Linked DNA regions of Homo sapiens: all the other regions are linked to region 3. Evidence: promoter capture Hi-C in 16 types of primary human blood cells and fetal thymus (Javierre and others, 2016). All regions are on one chromosome and are shown on one strand. The core of a region is centred on a gene start or on the middle of the fragment in contact, and the rest is flanking DNA. Distances in the headings are between cores, read along the strand shown. Region 1 overlaps ANXA2R-OT1 (ANXA2R overlapping transcript 1). Region 2 overlaps ZNF131 (zinc finger protein 131). Region 3 holds the start of FBXO4 (F-box protein 4). Region 4 overlaps TTC33 (tetratricopeptide repeat domain 33).

Region 1 (2,700 bases), core at 175-2,674, 1.1 Mb after region 3:
AGATATGTTTTGTTTTAAGAATGACAAGGGGTTAAATTTTTAAAAGATTTTCTGCATCTACTGATATTATCACATGGTTTACTTCCTTTTTAATGTTAATGTGTTGACTAATATTAACTGATTTTCAAGTGCTAAACCAATATTGAGTTCATGGAATAAATCCCACTGGATCATGATGTATTTTTTAAAACATATATTGCTGGATTCAATATGCTAATACATTATAATTTTTATCACCTGTGATCATGAGAGCTCTTGGCTAACCAAAAAATTGGGGGATTGACAAGAGTGATATACAAAATAGGCATATAAATATTCATACTTGCTTGATATTTAAAAGGGCCTTTTAATTTTTCTGCCCTGCTCAGGCAGACTTATTAAATACTGGCATCATGTCTCATTCGGGGCCATTCAAAGGTCAATAGTGACCTGAATCATTCTATTTTTGTAGGCATCCTCATAATCTTTTCAATACAGATTGAATTATTTAGGATTCAGTCTGCAGAAGAAAAAAGTCAAAGCATATAAGGTAAACAGAGAGGCATATTTTATTGGCCTGGCTTCCACAGGAAGCATTAGCTAAAGTGAAAACTTATGTGCCACTTTTTAATTCAAAAGTGGTTTTTTTAAGAGAGTGGGAGTTAAAAGACAGGGTAATTAGAATAGGAAGGAGTGAGAGACAATTCAATGGTGTGCTACTGAGGCAGAAAATTTAAAAATAAATACGCATTCATTCACTCCAAGAAAAGTAACAGGCAGGGCAAGGGTTAAAAAGAAAAGAACAAGTTCTCCTCTGCCTAGCAAGCTCACTTCAAAGACAGTTATAAGATACCCCTGTCCGGAAAGCCAAGTCCAAAGGAATGGGCTCCAGACACCCGCCCCTGCTCCAGAGCAAGGTTGAATGAAAAAAAAAAAAAAAGAAAGACAAATTCTTTTACTGTTACTCCTCTCCCAGGCTTCTTAAGCGAGATTATGTTTTACAAATGTCTGTATTTAGCCAGTTCTTGTTTTTCTTTCAATGCAGGCACAAGACCACCGACTATGCAAGGCCACAAGTTATGCTATGCTATAGATTATGTGACCTATCATATGATTAGCTGCTTTTGTTTTACTTTTGTAAGCCAGCTTATAAAAACCCCACTCTGTCTTTGTTCTAGGCTCAGCTTTTTGGATGCAAATCCACTGAGCCGGTGCGTACCTAAAATAAACAATCCTCCTGTTCTCCATATCAGTCTCTCTGGTCCTCAGTTTCCTGCAACACTACCTTATTGGCCCATACTGGGTATCACGCAGGGTCAGAGGCGAATTTACCATGCAGCTAAGGAAGCTTAGCTTTTAGGATCCGTTTGAACAGGTCTGTAATTTTGTACTCAAAATTTTTATTCTTTTTTTTAAAGAGAATCCCCCACTACTTTTATGAACATTGGGTACTATTAACTGAACCTACCTTGAACACAACAGTTTGCTTGATCACATGGAACCATCTTCTAGGAAGCCCTATCTAAGAATAATCCACTTAGGATAAGCTTCTAAGAATAATCCACTTAGGATGAAAGAAAGGGGAAGAATATATCCACTGTGGGAGAAATAAAACAATCCTGACACAAAAAGACCCCTGTGTACCCAACAGAAGAGAGACAGAACACTAGTATTGAATTAGCCTTAACAGATTTACATGCATGTAAGGTAGCATGACAATAACTATAAAGCTGGCTCATATCTCATATGCTTTGAACAAAGAATGGGGAAGAATGAGAACTGCTTTTACTGCTTCAAAAGAAAAGAGGGTACACCTTGTGACAGTTTCCCCTATACTGAGAAACCCTCAGCTCGTCCTTGTAGGTGCTGTTAAAAAACATCTGGATGTTATTTTCCTATGGCCCGGGTACATTCTGGAGACCGGGCTTAATCCCTAGAGATATTATATTTCCACTGTTAGAACAAAGATTCAGAGTTGTTACCACGTTGAATGTAATATCACTGTTTTCTTTCTTTTGTGGTTTTTAGGAACAGAAACAACACACTCAGACTTGAGAAACTGGTCTGGTTTAAAAGGGTTCCTGGCCTTACAGGTGGGTAAGAAATGTCACTTCCTGGCAGGCTGAGGAACATCAGGATATTTGGAGGACCTTGACAAGGGAAGAATTCACCGAAATCTATAGGTATTCCAGGCAAAGTGTGATAGCAAGATCCTGGTATGGTTTCCTAGCCTTGAGAGGCTTTTAAAAGTCTAATTTGAGATTCCTTATTAAAAGATCCAGAAAAGCCAACTTAAAGAGACCCTGTGTGGTAAAACACTATTCCTGCTGCACTTGTGTAAATATTAGGCCAACTTTAAAGACACTAAATTTATTTTGCAAACAGATTACTCTTACTAATACTTTGATGATGTTTGATAAAAAGGGAGTAAGTATAGAGAAAAAACTTTCAGAGAAAAAAATATAGTGCACCTGTTATTAGACTCTAGCTCATTGTTTTTGAGGTTTTTTCGTCTACCTGAAATCTAGACTGGATCTTGAATTTTTTGTTTCCTGTAATATCTGGCAATGGGCTGGGTGTCAGAGCTCGCAACTGCAATCCCAGCACTTTGGGAGGTCGAGGTGGGAGGATTGCTGAAGCCCAAGACTTCGAGACCAGCCTGGGCAAAAGGCGAAACACCGTCTCTACAAAAAGTTCAAAAATTTGCTGGGCATGGAGGCA
Region 2 (2,700 bases), core at 48-2,547, 1.2 Mb after region 3:
TCCTTACCTAGTGTTGTAAATTAGGCTTTATAAAACTAAAGGGGTTTGAAGTGAAGATTTAGCTTTATATCTAATTGAGATTAACATTTGCCAAGATAGCTGCCAAGAATATTCTGCATTTAGTTCAATAATTTCTGTAGTTACGTAATGAAGGAAGACCTATTTTGCTTTATATGATTTTTAAGTCTATTTTGTAGTTATACATTTGATTTTCGTGCTTGTGTATGATTTTCTTTTTTTTTCTTATTTTACCTAGGACACCATTTTAAGGCTCACAAGGCTGTTTTGGCTGCTTGTAGTAAGTTCTTCTACAAATTCTTTCAGGAGTTTACCCAAGAACCATTGGTGGAGATAGAAGGTAAATGATTCTTGTTGTTTTTTTATTTAATAAATCAAAGAAGCCATTTTATTTAAATGCTTGTTTTAAATACAATACTTAGCAAACAATTGGTGAAGCAGTTTTAGACAGTTTATCAAGACACCATAGGAAATAGGCATCAGTAGTTCCTGTAGGTAAAGGTAGATAAATTGTTCTTTTGATACCTGAGAAGTCTTACTTTCAGTGAAGTGCTTGGTTGAATGATCTGCCAGGAAAAACTTAGATGGTAGATGTTGGTCTTTTCCATTGTGGAAACTGGTGGTCATTGTTTTTTGAAAACAAGTATTAAACGTGAATTACTATCTTTGTTCAGTGGGCTTATGTTTCAGACTGCTGGAGATGCTGCAGGTTACAGTAGAAGCTTTTACTGTACTCTATAGCAGAAGTAGTGATGTATTAGCAGAGGTACAGATGACATGCAGTGTGAAGTGGGCTGCCATAATAGGGAGAAAGCTAGGAAAAATGAACTGAAGTAGCATTTAGAGGAAATTCTGGCTCTACAATGGGATGGATCAATACCTGTTACCTTGAAGCAAAAAGTGATTTTTGTACTTTCTAGACATTTTTCTAATAATAACCTGCCAAGTGCCAGGCGTTGTGATATGTAGTTTTGTGTATTGTCTAAGGCTCACAGCAATCGTTTGATGTTGGGCAGGATGGCTTGTGCTTGTAGTCCCAGCTACTCGGGAGGCTGAGGCAGGAGGATTGCTTGAGCCCAGGAGTTCGAGGCCAGCCTGGGGCAACATAGACCCTGTCTTTTCTTTTCTTTTCTTTTCTTTTCAAAAAGGGAAGTGGTGTTATTTGTAATAATTTACACTTCAGGAAGCAGGCTCTAAAAGGTTACTTGCCCAGGGTTGTCCAACTAGCAAGGAATTAAGTTTGTGCTATTAATTACCATGCTTTTTCTTCTGCTACTGCAGTAACTCCTCCCCTACCACCAGCATCAAAATCTAAAACAGCAGGAAATAAATGTTTGCCTACGTAATTACAGAATTTTAGCTTCTTTTAGGGTTCTTGGGTTTTGGTTTTATATCTATTTCATTGTGTACGTATTCTTTGTTCTGAATGGGTTGCCTAGAAACTCCTTTTTTCCCTTTGATGCCTAGGGGAGTAAAGAAAACAAAAAAGAGTTAAGAATATTCTTTAATTTTGGTATATTCCAGTTTAGCATTATAGCTGATATATTTACAGCTAGAGTATCTTTTAATATCTATAATCAGGACAGAGACATAATTATGAAAATCCACAAAACTTAATAAAGTGAGAATCTAACTGCCCAGATGATAGTGGTTTCTACTACAAAGCAAGCCTCCATGAATTCATTCACACCTGAGGTTTATTAAATATGTGACCCCAGGCGGGTTACTTTACCTCAATTGCATACTTTTCTCCTCATCTGAAAAGTGGGTTCATAGGATTATAAAGACTAATTGCGATAACATGCAGAGTGCATGGCATGATATTTGGTGCCTTGTCAAAGCTTGATAAACAGGGTCCAGTCTAAGAAACATTAGGGAGACCTCTTCTCTACAAAAAATTTAAAAAATTATTAGCTGAGTCTGATGGCACATGCCTGTGGTCCCAGCTATTCAGGAGGCTGAGGCGGGAGGATTGCTGGGGCCCAGGAGGTCAAAGCTGCAGTGAGCCATGATTTTGCCACTGCATTGTAGCCTGGGCGACAGAGCAAGGCCCTGTCTCAAAAAAAAAAAAAAAAAGTCAGTTTATCATATTGAATATCTATAATATATCATGTACTATGTTAGACCCAGGAGATGAAGAATTAATGAATAAGATGTCCCTTAAAGAAGTCGGAAAATTTCATAACAGGTGAGCAACAGGCAAATAAAGGAGTGCAAAAAGTATTACAAAGACTATTACTGTGAAATGGTATCACTGAAGAGGGAGAATGAGTGGTTTGGTCTTCCTTAGGAAAGATTTCAAAGAGGAGTTTTGAGTCTGAGCAGAATTTTTTTTTTCTTTTTTTTGGAGATAGATTTTAGCTCTTGTTACCCAGGCTGGAGTGCAATGGCGTGATCAGGCTGGTCTCGAATTCCCCACCTCAGGTGATCCACCCGCCTCTTCCTCCCAAAGTGCTGGGATTACAGGCGTGAGACCACGACTGGCCAAGTCTGAGCAGAATTTTTAAGTCTTAAAAAATAAGTGGCCTGGCCGGATGCGGTGGCTCACGCCTGTAATCCCAGCACTTTGGGAGGCCGAGGCAGGCAGATCACCTGAGGTCGAGAGGTCGAGACCAGCCTGACCAACATGGTGAAACCCTGTCTCTACTAAAAATATAAAATTAGCCGGGCGTGGTGGTGGGC
Region 3 (2,700 bases), core at 19-2,518:
TTACAGATGATAGGTCTGGGATTTGTTTCAAAAGGATCCAGAATTGGGGGTGTAGTATTAGGTGAGTATAGCAACAGCACAAGATTAACCAGGTGTTGGTAATGGAATCTTGGATACTGGGCACACAGGAGCATATTATTCACTCTCCTTTTATAAATGTTCAAAATTTTCCGTAATAAAGTTTTTCTCATTCATTTAACAGATATCATTTTAATACTTTATACTTGAACTGATTTTTTTTCTTGCTCTAGTTCGTTTTTTGCTCTCAAAGTAAATCGTGTCCTAGAAAGTGATGAGAAATGCCATATGGTTAATCCGTGGTCCTTGTCCAGATTGCCTCCCAAAAACGAGGCTGCAATTTTATTGGTTATTGGCCCCTACCAACAACATGCAAATAATAAAATGTAATGAAACTTAAACTTGTATGTTACAGAGCCTTGCAGAACCTTAGTTATCAGGCTTTCTTGGATTCTGTTGACATTTAGATCCTCAGAGATTTACTTTTTGAATGTATACATACCCAGTTCTATGTAACAGATTAACTTGTAATACGTTCTCTTAAAGCACTTTTAAAGTAAGCCCAAAGTAAGTAGAATGGGCATCTGGTTTGAGAATTAAAAAACTCACTAGTGGGATTTCAACACCACCACATCTGGGTTCTTCTAGCCGTTTTTTGCCGCCCTTGCAAATTTTAAATGTGCTTATATTTTTGCATAGTGGGTCCAGACTTCTCATTTTGGCAAAAGGTTCTTTGTAATTGGCCCGCTGACTGCCTCTCTAGTCTGTTTTTGCTGATACTCAAGAAAATAAATGGTAACTTGGTGATTGAGGAAATAACACACACAAAAAACACCCCATACGTAGTATGGTAGTGCTGAAAAGGAAGCAAGTGGTTATTAAGCCCAAGACAGTGGCAGAGGTCTATCGAACAAGCGGAGTCGCCTAGGACCAGGCATAGTGGAAATGATCCCGGAGAGAACATCTTGAATGAAGCCAGGAAGTCAGCGGGCCAGAGGTTGTACAGGGGCTCTGCGGTTGGCGTGGCTGAGGTTGAGGCCACAAGTTACTGGGGAAGTTAATTGTTGACAGGAGCTTCGTACTCGGCTCACAGCCACGCACAGTGGGCTTCCTCCCAGTACCCGCCCTTGCCCCTGGGCCTAACCCTGCCCTGGAGGCGGACTCGCGGGAGAAGCGGGAGGCGGAACGCCCGAGGGCGCCCTCGGCTGGCGCGGAGCTGCGCAGGAGGCTGACGCGCTAGCGTGGCTCTAAGACGCGTCACCCACGCTGCGGGCAAGCCATGGCGGGAAGCGAGCCGCGCAGCGGAACAAACTCGCCGCCGCCGCCCTTCAGCGACTGGGGCCGCCTGGAGGCGGCCATCCTCAGCGGCTGGAAGACCTTCTGGCAGTCAGTGAGCAAGGAGAGGGTGGCGCGTACGACCTCACGGGAGGAGGTGGATGAGGCGGCCAGCACCCTGACGCGGCTGCCGGTGAGCGTCGGCCGCAGGCCGCGGAGGACAGTGGGGCCGGCCCGGGCCGGAGGGACCTCCCCTGGAGCCCCCCGGGGCCTGGGGAACTCTCGCGCCCCGGCCTGGGTCTGGCTCCGTCCATGCAGCCATTCCTGGCAGTGTAGTCACCGAGAAGCTACAGTTGATCAGAAGCGTCTTGGCGTGGACCCTGGTGCTCCGCAGGGGGCCCGAACATCTCAGGGAAGCACCTTCATGGGGCCCCTGGGGACCCTCCCGATCGCCCTCAGGTTTTCCACCCGCCAAAACAGGCACATGTGACTAGGACACCCTGAATGTCCGGTTACGGAAATGAGACAGTTCCCAACTTGCTGATTAGCTTGGGAAAGCATTCCAGCGTCCCTGTTCCCAGCGTCTTTGATTCCGGATCACTGTACCAAAACACTTGGAGGGCCAAGGTTTTTACCCTCTCAAGAGGACATTGTGCCTGTGGCTGTTATTGTGTATTTGAAGAAACAAAACGGCCCCTCAGTTGAAAATAAATGACTTAAGTTACAAGTGCCTCAAGTTACATCAAGGCCACGAGAATGACACACATAACTTATTGTTAAACTTTGGGGTAGATAGGTAAATGAAGAGAACAAAAATTATTGAAAATTATTACAATTCTTTGTCTCATTTGGACTATTGACACCTCTCTCCAATGTGTATATCAACGTGAAAGCTGCAGGTTTAGAATGCCTCCAAGTTTCTCCTTGCAGAGGTTTTTCATAACATTTTAATAGATTCTGTAGAGGAACTAAGATGACAAATTTACGGCCGGGCGCGGTGGCTCACGCCTGTAATCCCAGCACTTTGGGAGACCCAGGTGGGCGGATCACGAGGTCAGGAGATCAAGACCATCCTGGCTAACACGGTGAAACCCCGTCTCTACTAAAAATATAAAAAATTAGCCGGGCTTGGTGGCAGGCGCCTGTAGTCCCAGCTACTTGGGAGGCTGAGGCAGGAGCATGGCGTGAACCTGGGAGACGGAGCTTGCAGTGAGCCGAGATCTTGCCACTGCACTCCAGCCTGGGCGACAGAGCGAGACTGTGTCTCAAAAAAGAAAAAGACAAATGTACACTCTTTGATTTGGTCTGATGATAAAATCAGATAAAGGTTGATATGGGTTTTATTTTGAAGGACAAATTATTTCCTTAACTAATTTATGTAACTAACTGGTATATCCAAATATCTCT
Region 4 (2,700 bases), core at 161-2,660, 1.2 Mb before region 3:
TGCACTCCAGCCTGGGCAACAGAGTGAAACTCCGTCTCAAAAGAAAAAAAAAAAAAAAAAGAAAATCTCATTTAGTGTAGCCAACTTCATCAATTATCTTAGCTAGATCTTTTCTGGATAACATCAGCATTTGCTGCTTTACTTTGCACTTTCATGTTATGAAAATGGCTTCTTAAACCTCACAAACGAACCTCTAGCAGTTTCAAACTTTACTTTGGCAGCTTCTTCACCTCTCTCAGCATTCACAGAATTGAAGAGAGTTAGAAACTTGCTCTAAATGAGGCTCCTGCTTAAGGGAATATTGTGGCTGGTTTGATCTATCTAGACCATTCAAAGCTTCTCCATATTAGCAATAAAGCGGTTTTTGCTTTCTTATCATTTGTGTGTTTACTGAAGTAGCACTTTCAATTTCATTGAAGAACTTTTCCTTTGCATTCACCACTTGGCTGTTTGGTGCAAGAGGCCTAGCTTTCAGCCTGTATTGGCTTTCAACAGGTCTTCCTAAAATCATTTCTAGCTTTTGATTTAAAATGAGAGATGTGTAACTCTTCCTTTCACTTGGACACTTAGAGGGCATTGTAGGATTAACTGGCCTAATTTCAATATTGCTGTGTCTCAGGAAATAGGGAGACCCAAGGAGAAGAAGAGAGATGGGAATAGCCAGTTGGTGGTACAGCATTCAAAACACACATTTATTGATTAAGTTCACCATCTCATATGGGCATGGTTCATGGCAACCCAAAATGATTACAATTGTTAACACCAAAGATCATCGATTACAGATCACCATAACAGATATAGTAATAATTAAAACATCTGAAATATTTCAAGAATTACCAAAATGTAGCACAGAGACACTAAGTGCACACATGCTATTGGACAAATAGCACGAAAAGACTTGCTGGACACAGGGTTACTGAGCACTTGCAATGTGCAAAAACGCAGTATCTATGAAGTGTGATAAAGTGAAGCACAATAAAATGATCCCTGTAATCACTAGAAGGAAGGTGAGAAAAAAAGTGAGGGTGGCTATGAGGTCATTCACATGGAAAGACCTACCGTAATGGCAGAATTTGGAGGGGTAAGAAAATTGTGAGTCGTATGTCTGAGTTCTTAATGAATATGAGAGAGTGCCAATAAATCACAGCAATCAAGAAATATACAGGCTGGGCGCGGTGGCTCACACCTGTAATCCCAGCACTTTGGGAGGCAGAGGCAGGCGGATCACCTGAGGTCAGGAGTTCAAGACAAGCCTGGCCAACATGGTGAAACCCCGTCTCTACAAAAATACAAAAAGTACCTGGGCATGGTGGCACATGCCTGTAATCCCAGCTACTTGGGAGGCTAAGGCAGGAGAATCGCTTGAACTTAGGAGGTAGAAGTTGCAGTGAGCCGAGATTGCACCATTGCACTCCAGCCTGAGCGACACGAGCAAAACTCCATCTCAAAAAAAAAAAGAAAGAAAGAAAGAAAGAAAGAAATATACAGGCTGATAATATAAGTGAACCACAAACTTTCCACAGGAACTGAGATTTTTTTTAAAACCTGGAGGACTAATGGATTATAAACTGTGCTGGGGAATAAGGACAATGCAAACTCTCTCCCCAGGCCGATCATATTATAGGAGAATGAGTTTCCCATGTTTGAAGATGACTATGAGTATTGTAGGGGAAGATGGCTGAAAACAGAAGTGTGGATACTATGGAACAGAAGTTAAAAGGCACACAGTGAGGACAACCTGAGAAAATACAGATCATTAGGAAAGACTCACAAGATATCAGTGTAAGACAAGATAAAAAGAAGTCTTGTATTTATGATTATCCCTAATGGTAACAAGAATGATGACCACGTTTTCCGGTTTCAAGATTCCAAATGAAACTTTCTTTATTCATAAGGTGAGGCACCAGGCACTGTGGGAACCCTACTCATACTAAAGGACACCTAGTGTGTTTACTGGAGGTAAACTACAATAAAAATCATTGATCAAAAGAAAAAAAAGTAAAAAAAAAAACCGTTGATCAGATCTGTAGATTACATGAGGGGCTGTGATAGGGTGGGAAGGAAAGGAAAAAGTGAGAAACAGACCCACACATCTTTTAAAATTAATAGGTCATTCAGATTCCAATTACCCTCCCCATCTTCCAACCCAAACCACTGTTATAAATGCTGGGGACAAGTATAAGTTATGGCCCAAGGTGGTGGCTCTCAACCATATGTGAAAAAACCACGCCACTATTGCCTCAGGTGTTTGAGCCATTCTCCTCCACAGATCCCTTGAGACCTAGAGATCAGGGGCTGCAGAGGTCAGGACAGACTGAGGTTATGAGGGTGTGGGAGGCCTGATGCCACTAGCAATCGACAAGTTTAACCTGAAAGAGGGAGACAAAAATACAGTCCTCTCAGACAAAAAAAGGAGTTAATATTGAGTGAAACATACAGGCAAGTTCAGGGATGGAGGGAAAGGAAAATGAGGAATTTCATGCCCCAAGCTTCACATTTCTCCAGCAAACAGCGGCTAGTCATCTGCTCAAAGTAAAAGGAAAATAACAGATCTGAGTTCTTGAGAAAAAGGGAAAAGACTAAAATAGTCACTGTGGAGATAAGGAAAAGCAACAAAGGAAAAATAGAGATACCAAACAGTAGTATCAAGGGCCCACTACTGTGTAAAAGCATGAATCTGTTATCAAGGCCATTAGCAAA

What was found. Contacts are between HindIII fragments. The CHiCAGO score rates a contact against its expected background, and 5 or more counts as called.
Region 1: a fragment that was not itself captured here is called in contact with the fragment with the promoter of FBXO4 in region 3 in 2 of 17 cell types (total B cells and erythroblasts); the score reaches 5.9 in total B cells.
Region 2: a contact is called between a fragment that was not itself captured here and the fragment with the promoter of FBXO4 in region 3, in 2 of 17 cell types (monocytes and naive CD8 T cells). The highest score is 7.9, in monocytes.
Region 4: a contact is called between a fragment that was not itself captured here and the fragment with the promoter of FBXO4 in region 3, in 1 of 17 cell types (total CD4 T cells). The highest score is 5.1, in total CD4 T cells.

What each region holds. Positions count from the first base shown.
Region 1 is chr5:43,048,552-43,051,251 of GRCh38, forward strand. All of the region lies in intron 2 of ANXA2R-OT1 (ANXA2R overlapping transcript 1), which reads right to left. Among named protein-coding and RNA genes, the nearest start is that of ANXA2R-AS1, 7.8 kb to the left of the region's middle. The HindIII fragment of the contact is 199 bases long and covers 1,326-1,524 here.
Region 2 is chr5:43,122,953-43,125,652 of GRCh38, forward strand. ZNF131 (zinc finger protein 131) reads left to right here. Exons shown (of 7, transcript NM_001330707.2): 3 at 257-358. Among named protein-coding and RNA genes, the nearest start is that of ZNF131, 3.4 kb to the left of the region's middle. The HindIII fragment of the contact is 1,119 bases long and covers 739-1,857 here.
Region 3 is chr5:41,924,013-41,926,712 of GRCh38, forward strand. It overlaps FBXO4 (F-box protein 4), which reads left to right and starts at 1,269. Exons shown (of 7, transcript NM_012176.3): 1 at 1,269-1,486. The coding sequence starts at 1,298. RefSeq lists a silencer at 1,527-1,706. The HindIII fragment of the contact is 6,278 bases long and covers 1-2,700 here.
Region 4 is chr5:40,751,919-40,754,618 of GRCh38, forward strand. The region is part of intron 1 of TTC33 (tetratricopeptide repeat domain 33); the gene reads right to left. Among named protein-coding and RNA genes, the nearest start is that of TTC33, 2.7 kb to the right of the region's middle. The HindIII fragment of the contact is 2,153 bases long and covers 335-2,487 here.